7 separate regions of the Homo sapiens genome follow, and regions 1, 2, 4, 5, 6 and 7 are each linked to region 3. Evidence: promoter capture Hi-C in 16 types of primary human blood cells and fetal thymus (Javierre and others, 2016). All regions are on one chromosome and are shown on one strand. The core of a region is centred on a gene start or on the middle of the fragment in contact, and the rest is flanking DNA. Distances in the headings are between cores, read along the strand shown.

Evidence for each region. The method cuts DNA at HindIII sites, captures the fragments that hold promoters and counts their contacts. A CHiCAGO score of 5 or more calls a contact.
Region 1: a fragment that was not itself captured here is called in contact with the fragment with the promoter of AGTPBP1 in region 3 in 2 of 17 cell types (total B cells and M0 macrophages); the score reaches 6.6 in total B cells.
Region 2: a contact is called between a fragment that was not itself captured here and the fragment with the promoter of AGTPBP1 in region 3, in 2 of 17 cell types (M0 macrophages and M2 macrophages). The highest score is 9.7, in M0 macrophages.
Region 4: a fragment that was not itself captured here is called in contact with the fragment with the promoter of AGTPBP1 in region 3 in 2 of 17 cell types (M0 macrophages and M1 macrophages); the score reaches 9.9 in M0 macrophages.
Region 5: a contact is called between a fragment that was not itself captured here and the fragment with the promoter of AGTPBP1 in region 3, in 3 of 17 cell types (M0 macrophages, M1 macrophages and M2 macrophages). The highest score is 13.9, in M0 macrophages.
Region 6: a contact is called between a fragment that was not itself captured here and the fragment with the promoter of AGTPBP1 in region 3, in 3 of 17 cell types (M1 macrophages, M2 macrophages and M0 macrophages). The highest score is 16.3, in M1 macrophages.
Region 7: a contact is called between a fragment that was not itself captured here and the fragment with the promoter of AGTPBP1 in region 3, in 2 of 17 cell types (M0 macrophages and M1 macrophages). The highest score is 18.9, in M0 macrophages.

What each region holds. Positions count from the first base shown.
Region 1 is chr9:84,289,536-84,292,235 of GRCh38, forward strand. It overlaps SLC28A3 (solute carrier family 28 member 3), which reads right to left. Exons shown (of 18, transcript NM_001199633.2): 11 at 619-744. SLC28A3-AS1 (SLC28A3 regulatory antisense RNA 1) reads left to right here. Exons shown (of 2, transcript XR_001746802.1): 2 at 405-601. Among named protein-coding and RNA genes, the nearest start is that of SLC28A3-AS1, 13 kb to the left of the region's middle. The HindIII fragment of the contact is 568 bases long and covers 970-1,537 here.
Region 2 is chr9:84,353,957-84,356,656 of GRCh38, forward strand. It overlaps a transcript of SLC28A3 not described here. Among named protein-coding and RNA genes, the nearest start is that of SLC28A3, 15 kb to the left of the region's middle. RefSeq lists an enhancer at 2,094-2,684. The HindIII fragment of the contact is 3,937 bases long and covers 1-2,700 here.
Region 3 is chr9:85,740,629-85,743,328 of GRCh38, forward strand. AGTPBP1 (ATP/GTP binding carboxypeptidase 1) reads right to left here and starts at 1,326. Exons shown (of 26, transcript NM_001330701.2): 1 at 1,147-1,326. RefSeq lists an enhancer at 340-489 and silencers at 660-979, 1,050-1,649. The HindIII fragment of the contact is 1,776 bases long and covers 51-1,826 here.
Region 4 is chr9:84,311,476-84,314,175 of GRCh38, forward strand. SLC28A3 (solute carrier family 28 member 3) reads right to left here. Exons shown (of 18, transcript NM_001199633.2): 2 at 1,884-1,979. Among named protein-coding and RNA genes, the nearest start is that of SLC28A3, 28 kb to the right of the region's middle. The HindIII fragment of the contact is 7,197 bases long and covers 1-2,700 here.
Region 5 is chr9:84,329,242-84,331,941 of GRCh38, forward strand. All of the region lies in intron 1 of SLC28A3 (solute carrier family 28 member 3), which reads right to left. Among named protein-coding and RNA genes, the nearest start is that of SLC28A3, 10 kb to the right of the region's middle. The HindIII fragment of the contact is 1,958 bases long and covers 459-2,416 here.
Region 6 is chr9:84,396,802-84,399,501 of GRCh38, forward strand. No RefSeq gene overlaps it. Among named protein-coding and RNA genes, the nearest start is that of SLC28A3, 57 kb to the left of the region's middle. The HindIII fragment of the contact is 7,909 bases long and covers 1-2,700 here.
Region 7 is chr9:84,375,251-84,377,950 of GRCh38, forward strand. No RefSeq gene overlaps it. Among named protein-coding and RNA genes, the nearest start is that of SLC28A3, 36 kb to the left of the region's middle. RefSeq lists an enhancer at 1,181-1,681. The HindIII fragment of the contact is 2,913 bases long and covers 1-2,700 here.

The sequences.
Region 1 (2,700 bases), core at 4-2,503, 1.5 Mb before region 3:
AACTGTAGTTTAATTACTCTGAGATATGGACCTGGGCATTAGAGAATTTAAAAGCTCCCAGGTGATTCTAACGTGCAGAAAGGTTTGAGAATCACTGCTCTAGACCAGGGGTCAGAAAAGTTTTTCTGTAAAGGGCCAGAGAATAAATATTGTTGTCTTTGTGGATCACAACGACTCAACTCTGTAGCATGAAAGCTGCCAGAGACAAATGAATAGAAGTAGTTGCTTTCCAATAATTCATTTCCAAAAACAGGAGCAATTGGGATTTGGCCCATGGGCCATAGTTTACTGACTCCCAGTCCAGATCACCTTGACTGATGTAATAATTTTTTTTTTAACAGATTTAAATTTTCAACCAAAGCAACTTTATCATATGATTGCATTTTTCTGTTTTTATTCTGCAGATAGAACTCACATTTAGGCAGCAGGTATATGAAGCCCTGAAACTCCTTGGGATCCCTATGTTCAAATGCCAAAGCAACTGTGACCAACTTTTGCCATATGGCAAAAAAAGACACTCTCTTGGCCTCCTTTTTCCACCAGCAATGGAAAAGAAAAGAAATAACAATAATAAAGAAAGAAGAGGTTGGTGTTTTCATAATTCCAAAACATTCTTACCCCAAAAGAAATGTATGCACCTAGCACGCTTCCAGCAATGGTAGAGAACCCGGCGGTCATGATGGCGTGGAGTTCAGACTTGGTGATGTAAGGTAAATATGGTCGGACCAGCAGTGGAGACTCCGTCTGGAGACAAAGAAGGGTGACCAGATTCCTTTTTAAATCTGTGTGGGGGCAGGGGAAGGCATGCCAATCTACTCACAATTTTATTCTTTAAAGCAGACAGTTTCTAAGAGTGAACCTCAGACCAGCTCCATCAGCGTCACCTGGAAACTCGTTAGAAATGCAAATTATTTCGATTTACTAAATTAGAAACTCCAAGGGTGGGGGCTACCAATCTGTATTTTCACAAGCTTTCCGGGTGATTCCAATGCATGCTCAAATTTGAGAACCCACACCATCGACGTCTGGGTTATTTGAACTCTAGATCAGTTTCCATATGTGGTCATGTATAAATTTTGTAAAATTCGTGAGGCTAGACATAGAAGGCCTCCACCCAGCCTAGGACTGGACTCTGTGATGTCTTGGTGCACTTTTCTAAGGGCCAACTGACTCTATGCAGTGGCCTAACCTTCTGGATGGGTGATTTCTAAGCCACTGTGGCTTCCTGTCTTCCAACTTCACCTTGACAGACCCTAAACCTGTTTCCTGACCTCAGAGAAATAGACACAAGCATTAAAAACAAACAAACAAACAAACAAACAAACAACCTCAGCAATAACAAGAACAGGTGCCCGCAGGCCCTTCTGTAATTGAGAATCAGAGACCCCTCTCTGATGGGTGGAAAGGAAGAAGCAGACAGAGTGTAGTTGTAAAGGCTTGAATCCCATTAAGGAGGACAGGCAGCCTGCGGCATGGGGCTCTCCATAGATAATAGCTGTACTTTTAGCATATTAAGTATCAAATTGAACATCACAGAAGCTTGTGTGCAATTTTACAATTTTCTCCTTATTATCTCTAATTGTTCTGTAAGATTGAATGTGTGGAGCCTCGATTTACCGACTAAATAGGAACCCTGTGCGGGAGCCCTCTTACCCCACAGGTAGGAGCAATCAACTCAAGATGGTGCCCTAATTAGTCCTGAGAGATTTTATGACTGTAATTATAATAATTTCAACTCCTAGGGAAGGAAGCATGGGATGGGCCCCCACTCTAAAGACTATGCTCCAGGCTAGTAAGCATAGGTTTTTTTTCTTTTTTGAGACAGAGTTTTGCTCTTGTTGCCCAGGCTGGAGTGCAATGGCATGATCTCGGCTCACTGCAACCTCCACCTCCTGGGTTCAAGCAATTCTCCTGCCTCAGCCTCCTGAGTAGCTGGGATTCCAGGCATACGCCACCATGCCCAGCTAATTTTGTGTTTTTAGTAGAGACGGGGTTTCTCCGTGTTGGTCAGGCTGGTCTCAAACTCCCGACCTCAGGTGATCTGCCCGCCTTGGCCTCCCAAGGTGTTGGGATTACAGGCGTGAGCCACTGCGCCCAGCCGTAAGCATAGTCTTTAGAGTAGAGGCCCGTGCTTCTTGTTGGCTTACCAACAAGAAGTTTCAGCCTGCCAGGAGCAGTTGTAAGCCTGGGATTTGGGGCTATGTGTTTTTCTGAGTGACTTGATTTTTGCTTCAAATTCAGTTTCCTTGGGCAGTGGTGCTGGCAAGCGTTCATACCTGGTTTTCGTGGCGTGTGACTCCATTCTGCCTGAAGCTGCATATCTGGAGTGATGAGGGGCTTATTACAATTTCTTACTGATCCACCCCTTAGCCATGCTGCTATTTTGAGGGACACTCCTTGGCATGATATTTATTTGCTTAAATGGGCTTCAGGCAAAAGAGCGTTTCTCCATGTGATGGAACAGGGAGGTGAAAATTGAAGTCTAAAAGCTTATTTTTGATGAGAAGAGAAAAACCTAAAAGCATTTTTCTTCAGGCTCAGCAAAGACAGAATATTGGCCAGTTCAGACAAGTTGAGAATAAGCTCAAGTATTTACGCAGTTGCATGGTTGTTGGTGGAAAGGCTTTCTTGGTCTCCTCCATTGCCACAGGCATTATAGTTTAGAATGGGAGGCTGTTTGTAGCTTGGAGATTTCGAGAT
Region 2 (2,700 bases), core at 67-2,566, 1.4 Mb before region 3:
GAAAGAAAAAATCCTACTTATCGGCTTCCTCTTATGATAGCTGTACATACTGAGATATTGGTGTCACTGTTCTTTGTTAGTATAGGAATGTGGCTCAATGCCTGGCTCTCACCTCATCTTGTTCTCTTTCTTCTTTGCTCACAAATCTTCCAAGTCCTCCAGATCTGTTCTGGCCACAGGACATTTTCACTTGAATTTGGACTGGCCCCTGGACTGGCTCTTTCTCTTTGCTCAGATCTTAGCTCCTCAGCGAGGCTGTCCCAGGCCACACTGTCCTGTTGCCAGGCCAACCCTCATAGAGGACACTGTTTTGTGAACCATGGGCTCTCCTGCATGGGGCATAGGGCTGTGCATGGAGGCAATGCAGAGGGTAGGTATCTAAGAGCTCTGAAAGCCTGGCTGGTAAATACCATCCCCCCTGAAAGGAACCCCACAGGTTACACCTAGGACTTCTTGTGCTAGAAACAATGAAGTTTTTAAACCTACCTAAGTTTATAGCCAAAGGATATAGGAGTGGCCTGGGAAAGAACAATGTTTATAATCGATTGAAACACATAAAACCTTCAAAAATTCATGAGTCTATAATGATACTTAAAAACGGAAACTCTAGGCCGGGCACAGTGGCTCACGCCAGTAATCCCGGCACTTTAGGAGGCTGCGGCAGGCAGATGGCTTGAGCCCAGCAGTTAGAAACCAGCCTGGGCAACATGGCGAAACCCTGTCTCTACTAAAAATACAAAAATTAGCTGGTATGGTGGCGTGTGCCTGTAATCCCAGCTACTCGAAAGGCTGAGGTGGGAGGATCGCTTGAGCCCAGGAGGCAGAGGTTGCAGTGAGTCTAGATCGTGCCACTGCACACCAGCCTGGGCAATAGAGTGAAACCCTGTCTCAAAAAGAGAAAAAAAGAAAAAAAAAAGAAAGAAAGAAAAAAGGAAACTCTGAAAAAAACCTAAAAAGGGAGAAAATAAGCATTTATATTGTTCATAAGGAATTGCATTCAGGGTAACTAAATAGCCCCAGTTGTTAAGAAGAAGCTATACCTTATATATCAATGCCAGCAACAAATATAAAAATGATAGAATTTGAAAAGCATGATTTTGTGATCCTTTGAGCAGGGATAATCAATTGGAATTAAATCACTGGTTGGGTAGCTTATGGGGTGCTGGACGTCGTATGGAGCCAAATTCACAGTGTGCAGATGACATATTGCCACAGGGGAAACAGTAAAACGCATAATAAAGATGTCAGGGCTGAGGCAGGAGGATCTCCTGAGGCCAGGAGTTGGAGATCAGCCTGGGCAACATAGTGATACCCCTGCCTCTGAAAAAAGAAATAGCCAGGCACAGTGGTGCATGCCTGTAGTCCCAGCTAACTGGGAGGCTGGGGTGGGAGGTCTGCTTGAGCCCAGGAGTTCAAGATTACAATGAGCTATGATCGTGCTACTATAGTACAGCCTGGGTGATGGGGTGAGACCATGTCTTGGGGGAAAAAAACACGTCAGGCCAATACTAATCCAAATCAACAATTTACTATACATGGGTCCACCAGATATCATGAACTTCTGATGTGGGGTGATAAAAAGTACATATTGTCATTTTCGGTTTGGTCTATATATATTTTGATTTCTTTTTTTTTGTAAGAGCTCTGAAGTCAGACTGCCTGGTTCTAATCCTAATTCCCCTATTTCTAGATTGGGAACTTGAGCAGTTTATGCAGACTCTCAGAGCCTCTTAGGGTTTTGTGAGGATCTAACGAGAATACTTGTGCAATTGTTGGAATGGGGCTGGGTACTTAAAACACTCAATACTCAATACATTAGCTATTATCATTGTAAGTGCCCTATTCTTCCTTTTCTTATTTTATTTTATTTTATTTTAGAAAGGTTCTTACTCTGTCACCCAGGCTGGATTGCAGTGGTACAATCATGGCTCACTGCAGCCTTGACCTCCCTGGTCTCAGGTGATCCTTCCACCTCAGCCTCCCAAGTAGCTGGGACTACGGGTGCACCCCACCACACCCAGCTAATTTTTTTTAAAAAAATTGCAGAGATGGGGGTTTCACCATATTGTCCAGGCTGGTCTCAAACTCTTGGGCTCAAGCAATCCGACTGCCTCAGCCTCCCAAAGTGCTAGGATTATAGGCATGAGCCACTGCACCCAGCACCTATTATTTCTTGAATAAGTGCAAACTATTGTCGTAATAGCCATAGATAGCTATATAGCTCACCTCCCCCTTCCACCCAGTTCAGCCCATGGGATTCTAGACTTACAGCATGGGATAATTTGAGACCCATCAAGGCATCAGGACCAAAGTTTCAGGCCCTCCTCCCATCATTAACCCATCCTCAAGGCCTGAGGAGGTCAGTTAAGGGCTCCGAAACTGGGCTTCCTCATGAACCTGAAAGAAAAGTGGGCAGGGCCTCAAATCTGTGGCCTATGGGGAGAAAGGTGACGCACACCTGGGCAGGAAGGTATTGTTCAGTGTGACTATCTGCTAAATCCCTGGGGCTCCATCCAGCTAAGATAAAATGTGATGGTTCCCATTCTCAGTAGACAATACACCAATCCTATTTTTCTTAAATTTACCTAAATGAGGCCGGGCAAGGTGGCTCACGCTCGTAATCCCAGCACTTTGGGAGGCCAAGGCAGGTGGATCACAAGGTTAGGAATTCGAGACCAGCCAGGCCAATATGGTGAAACC
Region 3 (2,700 bases), core at 76-2,575:
GTTTATAAGAATAATTCAGAAGTTCACAAAGGATAATTTGATTTACATAAAGCTTAAAAAACGGACATAAAAGGTAAGTGAAAATGACCGATTAAGAAGACTGTTAAGGTCCTTTCTAACTACAAATTGTCATGCATTGTAATTAAACACAACTACAATGTTAAACACCTGAAGGAAAAAACCCACATAGAATTAATACTGCCAAAGAAAATTTCCGCTATCTTCAGGCACTTGAGTAAGCTATGTTAAAACGGGAAATGGGCTTTAAATTATCAACATTCACATCGATTACACTATGATGCATGAAAACTCCATTCTACAATGAGTAAACGCCCAAGAAAGGAACCCAACCAACTCCAATTGCCCTGGTGCTCGTAAGAGGTTTATACCGCACAAGGGGTAAAACAACGGTAGAGTCGAGCAAGCCTTTGGGTTACAACAGTCCTTGAACACTTGCAATTGAGAACCCGCAATTCAGGAAGGAAGACACTAAGGAAACTCTGCACTGTCATCCAGGGTGATCTGATTCAGGTTCAAACCAAACGCTCAAGGCGACAAGTTGTAAACAGAAGACACACTTCAGCTCAAACCACCCAGCGAGAGGAAGCAAACGTGCCCATCGCCGATGTCACAGCAAATCCCACCTTGCTGGCGCTCAGTCGGGAACGCTAGAATTCTCGAAGCACAGGGGCCCGCGATTCAGCGGCCCGCTACCACTGGGGCGGGGGAGAGCGGGGCTGGGCGCGCCCGCCCCCGGCCCTGCAGCCCCTCGGCTGGACTCCCCGCGGCGCCGCGAGCTCGGGCCCGAGAGAAAGGGCTGAGCAGAAAGGGCGGCCTCCGCCCAGAGACCGCGCCCGATACCCTCCGCAAGGTCTGGGACGGGGATCCACCGAGGGTCCGGGGACTGGGGAAGGCGTTTTCCAGACCCAGTCAAAGCCCCACCCCGTCAGGGCTTTCCCTCAAGACCGAGTGCGTTCCCCTCACGCGTCACATGTGTAACATGCGTTACACAACCCGTCAGGTAAGGGGCGCAGGGATCCGGGGTCGCCCCTCCTACCCCCGGGCGCCGTCGCTCGCATCTCCCGCGGCCCGGGGAGAGCAGAGGGACGGCCGGCCGGGACATGAGGACTGCAGCAGGGCGCTCACCGGCTCAGGATGGGGCGCTGGCGGGGACCGCGCAGAGCCGCAGCACCCGGCTCAGCACCTGGATCACGGCGGATCCCTCGCCGCCCGCCGCCCGGTGTTTTCATACAAACCCCGGTGGCAGGCGAGGCGGAGGCGGCGGCGGCGGCAGCTGCGGCGGCGGCGCTGGAGGCGGCGGAACCTGTCCGCATCCCGGGCAACGTCAGCGCGGCGCCCCGCCCACCGCACGCCTTGCCAGCCGGCTCCCAGCACGCGCAGGGAGTGGGGGCGGGGCGTGCGAGGCCGCGAAAGGGGCGGGGCGGAGCGCACGCCCTCTTCCCGCCGCGTCCCTTGTTACCTCCGTGCGCGCTGCGCCCCGCCTCTCTGCGCGCCTGACGGGAGGGAGCGCGCGCGTGGGGGCGGAGCGCGCACGGGAGCGGGAATTAGGGGCGGGTGTTCCGCGCGCTGCCGGTCCCTTGTACCCAGCAGCCCCGGCCACCGCCCCTCCGTACCGAACTGCGAGCGACTCCCCACGTTCTTCAAGTCATCTTTCTGTACACTCCCAACGAGGGCCCCAGCCTTTTCCCGGAACTAAGCCCGCGCCCACCCCCTCCCCCGCCATCAATCAGTCACTTTCTTAGGAAGGGTTCTTAAAGCTCCCCACGTGATCCCGGGGTCGCATCAAACGCTGGGGACTGCGGTAAAGCTTAGACCTTTCCTGACCTCAAGGAGGGTCCATAATAAGAGGCTGGAAGGGACATGCTGTTACTACAATCGGGCTCCCAGAAAACAACAGGATTGCACCTTGTGGCCAAATCTCAGTAAATTAGATGCCTAGTGCTGCAGCGAACAAAATAGCATGCTGATTTACTGTTTTTTGAAAAAGTGCCTGCATATAATCAAAACGGTAATGCTAAGTTGGCTACTGAAGGCAAAGGCGGAATGTTTTATCTGAGCCAAAGTAATGTGTCAGAGAAATTACTAATACACCCCCTTCTGTTTTGACTGTACTTCAGTGTACTGCAATGTATTGCAAATAAATACTGACATCATTTACTTTTTCACGTTGCACAAGAACATGTTTGCTACTGTTTATGGTAAGGAATGTAATATCACAACTAGATAAGGGAATGCATTGAGAACTGTGAGATTTTTGTTTTGTTTTATGATCTTGTTCAAATAAAATTAAGCAGGTGTGAAAGCAATTCAAAAAGTAACCCAAGGTACACCACAGTGCTTCTTACAGTTTGCCCTTGGTAGATGTCTTTATTCAGATGAACAAGAAACTGCCATTTTATAAACATCGTAGTTTCCCTCATCGTGAGCACTAAAAGATAGGTTACGGTATTTAAAATAATTTTGAAACAACCACCACCCCAAACCACCCAATCAGAAACGTATTATCTGAAAATACCCAATAATAATGTAATAATTTTACAATAATGCTAAATATGTATGTAATATACCTGAAACTTTTCTTAAAGAACATGTTTCTAAATGAGTCAACCTGCAATATAGGAAGATATTATGTGGATGTGTGTGTTTGTGGAATTTGAATCCCACTTTCACAAGCACTGT
Region 4 (2,700 bases), core at 11-2,510, 1.4 Mb before region 3:
GTACATTCTATGGGTTTGGACGCATGTATGATGGCATGTATCCACCATTGTAGTATCAGGCATACTAGTTTCATGGCCCTAAAAATCTTCTTATGGCCAGGCGTGGTCACTCATGCCTGTAATCCCAGCACTTTGGGAGGCCAAGGCAGGCGGATCACAAGGTCAGGAGATCAAGACCATCCTGGCCAACATGGTGAAACCCCGTCTCTACTAAAAATACAAAAAAAAAAATTAGCTGGGCACAGTGACGGGTGCCGGTAATCCCAACTACACGGGAGGCTGAGGCAGGAGAATCACCTGAACCCGGGAGGTGGAGACTGCAGTGAGCTGAGATTGTGCCACTGCACTCCAGCCTGCTGACAGAGCGAGATTCCATCTCAAAAAAACAAAAAACCCCACACTTCTTATTTGTCCCTACCACCCCCTGATGCCTTGAAAGCACTATTTACTGTCTCCATAGTTTTGCATTTTCCAGAATGTCGTATAGTTGGGATCGCACAATAGGTAGCCATTTTAGATTGGCTTCTTTTACCCAGTAATGTACATTTAAGGCTCCTTCATGTCTTTTCATGGCTTGATAGTTCATTTCTTTTTAGCGCTGAAAGACACTGCATGTCTGAATGTACCACAGTTTATTTATTCATTCACCTACTGAAGGACATTTTGGTTACTTCCAAGTGTTGGCAATTACAAATAAAGCTGCTCTAAACATCCATGTGTAGGTTTTTATGTGGACATAAGTATTGTTTTCTTTTTTGTTTGTTGAAGAATACTTAGTGAACATTTTTTACAATCAATTAAGCAAAATAGACAGTTACCAAACACTGTACTATGCATGGTATGATTCCAATACAGATGACATATGCATGTGGGTGTATGTTTGCATTAAAAAAGGCTGTGTTCCAAAATGTTAGGCACTGACTTTTTTTCTTGAATTATAAGCCTTTTTTGGTTTTCCAAATTTTGCTACAATAAGTTTTCCAAATTGTCTACTTTAAAAAAAAGTGATTCTTTTACCACGAGAAAACTCCTCACAAAATGACACACTAGTGGGCACCCCAAATTCCTTTTTTTTTTTTTTTTTTGAGAATCTCGCTCTGTCGCCCAGGCTGGAGTACAGTGGTGCCATCTCGGCTCACTGCAACCTCTACCTCCTGGGTTCAAGTGATTCTCCTGCCTCAGCCTCCAGAGTAGCTGGGATTACAGGCACACGCCACCACGCCCAGCTAATTTTTGTATTTTTAGTAGAGATGGGTTTTCACCATGTTGGCCAGGCTGGTCTTGAACTCCTGACCTCAAGTGATCCGCCCACCTCAGCCTCCCAAAGTGCTGGGATTACAGGCATAAGCCACCGTGCCCGGCCCTGAATTACCTTTTAAGGGGTGACCTACATGGGTAATTTGTTCACCTTTTTGGCAACAGGAAGCCATCTTTAAATAAACTCCTGTCCAGAATTCAACATGTAAGTGAAATTAAGCAAGAGTCCCTCGGACTGGTATAAAGCTACTAAGGAATGCGAGTGCATGATGGACCCAGATTCAGAACCATAGTAGAGGGTTCCTCTTGTTTCTGTCATTTACGTTAAAGCTCAGATGCTTTTGTCTAAGCCAATGCCTTTTTCCTTGAGATGGAGCTTGGAACTCCTAATAGTGAAGTGATGCTTCCCATCAGGGAACTCTGAGGACAGGTGGATAAAAACAAAATCTCTTTGTTTGGGCGTGTGTGTTTTCTTTACGACTATGCCCCCACACACTTTAATTACCACTTAATCTGTTCCTCTGCGTGCCAGTGGGGCGCCATGCTTTCTGTGCCCACTGTTCTCAGGTGCCTGTTGCGCAGCGGCTGCCATGGTACTAGAGTCATGCACCACAGTCTTGCTGTACCTGTTTGGTGTTTGTGTGCTCCCTGCTTTGCACAGCTCTGCTTCTTATTGAGTTGTTTCCTGATGTGTTCTCGTTCTCAAGAAAGTTTTCTTCATTCTAAGAAAAAAGTGCAGATTGAAAAAATAAAAAGTTACAGCCAAAAGACAGATGTTCTTTCATGAAAAATACCTAGAGGAATTTGGAGGATGAGACAAACAAAGATTAGGTGTTCAGATGAAGCATCCGATTCAACAAACAGCTGACAAATCCTGGGCTTGTAAAGAAACAGATGATCGGCTGGGCACAGTGGTTCGTACCTGTAATCCCAGCATGATGGGAGGCCGAAGTGGGAGGGGAGACCAGCCTGGGCAAAATCCTGTGTCTACTAAAAATATAAAAATTAGCTGGGCGTGGTGTTGTGCACCTATAATCCCAGCTACTTGGGAGGCTGAGGTAGGAGAATTGCTTGAGCCCCAGAGGCAGATCATGCCACTGCACTCCAGCCTGGGAGACACAGCAAGACTCTACCTGAAAAAAAAAAAAAAGAAAAGAAAAGAAAGTAAAGAAAAGAAACATATGACTTTTGCTTTGTTTTGTTCTGATACAAAAGTGGTCCAGGGGAAGAGAGGAATGAGGACAATTGCCCTCATCTCGGCCTGATAACTTTCCAATAGGCAGAGCTGGGACCAGGGGCAGGTTTCCACTCTCCTTTCTATCACATCACACTGATTTTCAACTTATAAAATGAACTAAAACGTGGTAAACCATAGGCTGAATAGCCTTATTCTTAGATGTTAGATTTACGAAATGTTGAAATGGGTTTTTTTTGGTTTAAAGC
Region 5 (2,700 bases), core at 188-2,687, 1.4 Mb before region 3:
CATGGGAGAAGTAGACAGTTCATCAATAGCTGGATATTTCATTACCCCATCTTCAGTAATGACTAGAACTAGAGAGATGGTCAGTAAGAAAATACAAGAATTGAACAGTGGTATATAAACCAACTAGACCTTATAGACATATACAGAACACTCCACCAACAAAAGTAGAATACACATTCTTCTCAAGTGCATGTAGAACATTCTCCAGGCTAGATCACATGTTAGGCCCAAACAAATCTCAATAAATTTAAAAATATTGAAAGATAATGTGTCTTCCCCAACCACAATTTGGGGAAAACTTATAAATTATGAGGAAATTAAGCACACTCCTAAATAACCAATGGATTAAAGAAGAAATCATTAGGGAAGTTAGAAAATAGTTTGATAATAATTAAAATGCAGCCTGGGTGACAGAGTGAGACTCTGTCTTATAAAAAAAAGAGAATTAATAAAAATAAAGCTTAGAGTGAGACTCTGTCTCATGAAAAAAAGAAGAAGAAAGAAAAATAAAGCTGAGCACAGTGATGCATGCCTGTAGTCCCAGCTACTTGGAAGGCTGGGGTGGGTGGATTGCTTGTACCCAGGAGTTTGAGGCCAGCCTAGGCAACATAGCATGGCCCTCATCACAAATAAATAAATAAATAACAAAAATGAAAATATACGAAAATTTATGAATATCGCTAAAGCAGTGCTTACAGGGAATTTTATAATTGTAATTGCTTATATTATCAAGAAGTAAGATCTCAAATCAATAATCCAATCTTCTACTGTAATGAACTAGAAAAAGAACAACAAACTAAATCCAAAGTTAGCAGAAAGAAAGAAATAATGAAGATTATCGTGGAGACAAATGAAATATAGACTAGAAAAACAAAAGAGAGAATCAATGAAACCAAAAGTTGGTTCTTAACTTACTTAAGGGAAAAAAAAAGCTCAAAAAAACTAATAGCAAGTGAAGAGATTGAATTGCTAACCATAAACCTCCCAACAAGGAAATGTCAAGGAAAAAAGAAACCAAGGAAAAAAAAGAGAGAAGACAAATAACTAAATTCATGAATGAAAGAGGAGATATTACTACTGATATTACAGAAATAAATGTAAAGTTGTTACTTTAATTTTTTGGCATAAATCTGGTGGTCAGGTCCTTAAAGAGGAAGGATAACCAGATCTGTGTGTGTGTATGAACTCTAAAACCAAAAACACATGCTTACGTGGGTGATCCAATAGAATAACCATCAGTGGCAAGTGGTTACTGAGTGCTTGAAATGTGACTAATATGACTAAGGACCTGAATTTAATTTTAACTAATTTAAATTTAAATTAAAAACTGAACATTAGATCCATGTATTGAAAAACAGGCATGTTTAGAACAACTTGATTATGAATCTACTTTTTACAAATATACATTTTATGAAATCTAAAAACAGATCAAGTATTTCTGATAAAAATGTAGCATTAGAGTTGACATGTACTATATGTTTAAAATATGCACTGGATGTTCAAAGACTTGGTATGAAACAAATATAAATTATTTCATTAATTTCAATATATGAGGTTCCATAAAATATAGTTAAAATAAGGTGAAGAGTTATACCTACTTTATTTTGCATTTTTAATGGGCTTGCAGAAAAGTTTTAAATTACATATCTGGCTAGTGTTACATATTAGAAAGTTCTGCTTTAGCCCTCAGCAAAAATGTATCTTTATCTACATTATTAATTATTTTCTATTTTCTTTCCAGTGCCTCAACACTGATGAGTAAGTGGCTCCTCAATTTCAAGGGGAATCACTTCAGGAGTGTTTGAATGAGGAAAAACTAAATCCTTATACCCTCTCTCTCTGAGATGCCATGGAAGTGACTTGGTTTACAATCCCCTACACTGTTTTCCCCTAAAAATAAGTCTAGGTGTGATCATGCAAACTTGAGGAAAGAGTAGAGAATATACTTTTCTTTTTTAACCTCCTTCCCAAAAGCGAATTATTGTCATGTGTTTTTGTGTGTGTGTGTTTTAATTGAATATAGGAAGCTCCAGCCGAGCGCCTCTTGAGCAATGTGAAAGAGTACTCAATGTGATTCATATTGACTTCCCAGGCTAGTGGGTTAAGGAGAAACAATATTCTTCTTCCCTACATAACATAGTTACTTCCTACCTTAGAACTTTTGTATTCAAAGTACGTGCTTGACAAGAAGTCTACACCTGTACTCCAGCAGGTTTGGATCCCTGATGGACTTACACTTACATGATCTCCCAAATTGTAAACTCCATTTAACAAACTCTCCAAACCTGCTTGACTGGCTTACTCATGGAGTAACTCAGCCTTTCCTGTGTGTTTGTGCAGAGTGAGGCCCATTTCCCCAGCCTAGTCCTCTCCCAAGACTTTCGTAAGTGAGTTCCACCCAACTAACTTCAGAGCAAGCTTGGGTTCTGTGCCTCTGAGAGCAGCTGTGGTAAGATTGATTGCTTATTCACAGGGAGGAGGAAACTTGAGTTGGGATTCCAAGAGATGCCTTTTAATAAATGTGTTAAAAAACATTCCTGCATTTTCCTCTTAGAAATTCTGAACTGTTTTGACCTCTGTTGCTGTTAACTTCCATCTCTTTGGATTCTTCCCCATCTCCTCTGAGTTTGGAAAAATCTTTCAGTTGCCCTGTTCCAAAAAGCCTCTCCCAAATATGGACACGTGGCAAAATATCTGTGG
Region 6 (2,700 bases), core at 115-2,614, 1.3 Mb before region 3:
TGGATACTCAGGGTTGTTCAGAACCAGGAAGGCTGGTAGGAGTTGCAGAATTTATTTAGCCTCAGGTCTTTGGTGTTGCTGAATCAACCCAGATTTGTAGTAAACTCCAAGAGGCAGGTTAGCACTGGGCACTTGGGAACAGAACCCCTATGGACAAGGAGCAACAGACGATACTGGTGAGATGGCAGGCATAACAGGGTTAAAGACCTAATGGAGACCCCTAACGAGGCATTCAGCTGGATCTACATTAGCTCTGGAGGCAACCACCAGGACCACTTTGGACCTTATGCGTTTTATACCATGTGAATGTATTTCTATTAATATAAGTAAAATAATTTTAAGAAAAAGAAGGGAAGGGCATGCCCACCTGCTCTGTCATGCTGTTTGTCTCTGGCAGAGAGGCAGGTGCTCTGGAAGGAGCTGGCAGCCTGTGATGACCTAGAATGGCCACTTGGTGGCAGTGTTTCACTTTAATTGGCCCAAGGCAACCCGACCTGGTTTTATGAACTTCTAGCTGCGGATTTCTGGGACCCGCCCTCAAGGTTCAATTTATAGGCCTCGAGTGAAGATGCAAAATAGGATCCTGAGTGGAAAGTAATGGCTGTAACAGATATCCTCTGGCTCCTCCCTGTCTTCTTTCCCATTAGAACATCTCCCATCTAAGAGCTGCTTAGCAGGAGACAGGGGTCAATATCACAGAGGCCGGATCAGAGGCAGAAGCTGGGCTGCTTTAGGCCTGACACCGTGTGAGGGACCTGAAGGCAAGGAGCGTGGCTGCATCTGCCAGGCACGGGTGCTCAGGGGTGCTGCGAGTCCCCCAGGCCAAGGACGGGGCGTGCATTCATGGAGAGTGTTTGGCTGTCTTCTTTCCTGTGCTGGCGCGTTTCCAGGGGCCCACTCTTTCTGAGGGGTCTCTCAGGGAGGGCATGGCTGTGAAAAGTGAGGGAGGAAGCCGCAGGGATGTCACCTTCGGCCGGTTACAAAGCCCTTCTGGGCCACGTTCTCCTTTGTGGGATTGGGACGTTGATCCACTTCAGAGGCTCCCAGGCCCCCAGTTCAGGGCTGTCCCAGAATCACCAGAGAAATAAATTAACACAGATTCCGGGGCCCCGCCACTGCTCAGTCTATTCTATGGGTCTAGTTGGGAGCCCCGGAATCTGTGGGTTTAATAAACCCCAGAAGAACCCAATGAAGTTTGGAATCCAATGGTTAGGGGTGCTTTTTTGGATTCCTTCTAAGTGAGAAATTGTGACTGTGGAAGTGATGACTCACTGTGAAGCACACGGGCCCTGAAATCCACCCCTTCAAGCTGTTGATCTTTGTATGCATTTATTTCCTCAAGATGTTGCTGGCTCTTCCCGGGCCAGGAAGCAGATGCTGTGCCCGGTAAGGCCCGTCCTTCCAGTCCAGCCTTTACCACCCATGCGGAGTGAGGGTGAGGGCTCCGAAGGTGCTTTTGACCCTAATGTCATAACCATGGGGGGTGGACACAGATGTAAACTCGAAACTCTTCTTATTATTGAAAAATGTAAATATATACAAAAGTAAAGAGAATAGTATAATGAATCCTTATTTATCCACTACTTAGATTCAACAATTATCAAGATTTTGCCACATAGCTCTTATTCACATGCCAAGGGGGAGAAAAGAAGATTTTGCTATAGAAAAATTATCATACTTTCATTTTTTGTGTTTGTCTTTGCTGAAATTTTTGCTTGAAAAAGGCAAATATCCAGGTTTCTAGTCATTTCCGCCTACATGGGGCATTTCTTCTGTGCCTTTATTACATGTTAATAATGACTTCTCAGGCCGGGCATGGTGGCTCATACCTGCAATCCCAGGATTTTGGGAGGCTGAGGCTGGAGGATTTCTTAAGCCCAGGAGTTCAAGACCAGCCTGGGCAACATAGTAAAACCCCATCTCAATAAAGATATTTTTAAAAATATTAAAATTGTTTTTTAAAAGAGAAAATAAATAATAACTTCTCAATATCATATAATTCTGACCCATACTCAAATTCCTCCAGAATTAGCTCAAAAATGTCTTTTGACATTTGATTTGAGGTCTAGGCTTCTGAGGTTATCTCCTAATGTCTCCCAATACATGCATTTGCAAAGATCCATTGAAGGGGTTGGACATTTAAAACATAGCACAACTTTTTAGCCTGAAACACACACAGAGCCCTGCAGAAAAGTGAAGTTGAGATCCTCACAGGTTCTGAGTTAGAGGGGCCTTGGAGATTATTCAGCTCACCCTTTCCTCAGTACTGGAGTCCTTTGACAGGATCAGGACTACTGTACATTTGGTATTGAAATTGCTCTTGCAAAATTATGACGGTAAGAAATCTAAGTCCAGGCGCGGTGGCTCACGCCTGTAATCCCAGCACTTTGGGAGGCTGAGGTGGGCGGATCACCTGAGGTTGGGAGTTTGAGACCAGCCTGACCAACATGGAGAAACCCCATCTCTACTAAAAATACAAAATTTGCTGGGTGTGGTGGTGCATGCCTGTAATCCCAGCTACTCAGGAGGCTGAGGCAGGAGAATTGCTTGAACCTGGGAGGCGGATGTTGCAGTGAGCCGAGATCATGCCATTGCACTCCAGCCTGGGCAACAAGAGCGAGACTCTGTCTCAAAAAAAAAAAAAAAAAAAGAAATCTGATACAGTTGACTCCATCTTACTTCTGACCTCCAAGCTGTCCT
Region 7 (2,700 bases), core at 87-2,586, 1.4 Mb before region 3:
TCAAGCAATTCTTCTGCCTCAGCCTCCAGAATAGCTGGGATTACAGTCACCATGCCCAGCTAATTTTTGTATTTTTAGTACAGATAGGGTTTCACCATGTTGGCCAGGCTGGTTTCGAATTCCTGACCTCAGGCGATCCTCCCGCCTCGGCCTCCCAAAGTGCTGGGATTACAGGTGTGAGCCACTGTGCCCTGCCGGTTTATTTATTTTTATTGCTGTATAGTATTCCATTGTATCAATGCTACCATTTACTTATCCAAACTTCCACTGATGAACATTTGAATTGTTCCAGTTCTTTTTATCATGAACAATGCTAAGAACATTCTTGAATATGTTTTTTGTGCACATGTGCAATAATTCTTGGGGTATACAATTAAGCCTGATATTGACATGAGTGTTCAATTTCTTAAGATAATGGACAACTATTTTGCACTGATGTTGAACCACTGTTGCTGGCAATTATGGGGGGAGCACTATATTTGGGACATGGGGAAGGGATGAGGCCAGGGAGGGGCTTGGTTGATGGGAGGGCAGGGAAAGAATTCTCAGCATAGAAAAGTGGTAGTTCCAGGCATTCTTGGGTGGGCCTGAGCTTAGCTGGTGAAAAACAGAAAGGCTGGAGCACAGAAGTGGGGGAACATTGGCAATGAGGTGGGAGAGGAAATCAGAGCCAAGTCCTGAAAGCCAGATTAAAGAATTTGATTTTATTCAATGTGAGGATTTTGAGATGGGGAGTGGATGTGATTTTATTTACATTTCTAAATAACATTTTGGCTGCTCTGTAGAGAATGGATTAGGGTTGAAAGCAAGAAGAACATTAGATGCTAATCATAACAGTCTGAGAGCCCGGGGCTGAGCAGTGCAGAACTGGTTGTGTCGTGGTAGGGGAGATAAGACCTGCTATCAGAGCAGATGTGGGCTGTGAAGGAGAGACAAGAATCAAGGCTGACTCTGAGTCACCAAACTTGTCCCATCTACCTCTTAAGTTTTTCTCAAATGTATGTGTCCCTTCTTTTTCCATTCCACTACCTCAGGTCTTACTATCTCTCATTTGACTACTGCAAGAAGCTGTCAACGAACTCTTCCCAGGGCCTCAAGCTGGCTCTCTTATCCTCCCTCCATCGATCTCCATATAGCTGATGAAATTACTTTTCTAATCAATGATTTTTCTAGATAAAGCAAGTCACATCATTTTCTTCATTAAAAATCTTAGGTGAGTCCCTAAATGCCCTTAGACCAAAACCTTATTCCTTAGGGATAGGAAAAGGAATTACAATGTTGAGTACTTTACATACCTTGAATCCTCATTTAATCCCTCCTAGAATTCCATGAAGAAGCGATTACCCTTGTTTTGTGGGTAATACAACTGAGGCCAGAGTGAAGGAATTTTCCCAACATCATAGGGTCACAGAGATAATAAATGACAGGGGTCTGTTCACATAAGCCAGTGGTTCCCAAACATGGGTGCAAGAGGGTCCTTGTTGGGGGCGAGAAGGCCCCCCAGGGCAATGATATCTCAATATCCTGGGGAGGCACCTGAGTTAATTTTCTCTCTCCCTCCCTCCCTTCTTTCTTTTTTTTTTAATTTCTTGACTTTACTTACTTATTTTTTGAGTCAGAGTCTCACTCTGTCACCCAGGCTGGAGTACAGTAGCGCCATCTTAACTCACTGCAACCTCCAACTCTTGGGCTCAAGCAGTCCTCCCACCTCAGCCTCCAGAGTAGCTGGAACTACAGGAGTGTGACACCATGCCCGGCTAATTTTTGTATTGTTTGGAGAGATGAAGTTTCACTATGCTGCCCAGGCTGGTTTCAAACTCCTGAGCTCAAGTCATACACCCACCTTGGCCTCCCAAAATGTTGAGATTATAAGCATGACCCACCGTACCCAGCCTGACTTTATTTTTTAAGGCAGTTTTAGGTTCTCAGAAAACTTGAGTGGAAAGTAGAGATTACCCATATACTTTCTGCCCCAACACATGCTCAGCCTCCCTCATTATCAACATCCCCCACCAGGGTGGTACACTTGTTACAATCTATGGACTGTAATATCTCCACAGTGTTGCCTTGTCCAGAATGTCATATAATTGGAATCAAATAACATGTAGGCTTTTCAGATTGGTTTCTTTCACTTAGTAATGTGCAATTAAGAAGCCAAAATGCACATTAAGGAGGTTAATGTCTTTTCATGGCTTGATAGCTCATTTCTTCTTAGTGCTAAATAATATTTCATTGTCTGAATGTACCACATTTTATCCATCACCTACTGAAAGACATCTTGGTTGCTTCTAAGTTTGGGCAATTATTGATAGAGCTACTATAAACATCTGTGTGCAGGTTTTGGTGTAGATATACATTTTCAGCTCTTCTGGATAAATACGAAGGAGCTCAATTGCTGGGCTGAAGTGATCCTCCTGCCTCAGCCTCCCAAAGAACTGGGATTATAGGAATGAACCACTGTACCTGGCTGAACACGAGATTTGGAAGGGAAAAAACTTCCAAACTGTATCACTGGTATACAGAAAAGTGATTAACTTCTTGTATATTAACCTTGTATCCTATAACTTTGCTATGATTGCTTATTAGTTCTAGGATTTTTTTTGGTTGATCCTTTCAGATTTTCTACATAGACAATCATCTATGAACAAAGAATGATGGATTTCTTCCTTACCAAATCTGCATACCTTTTATTTCCTTTTC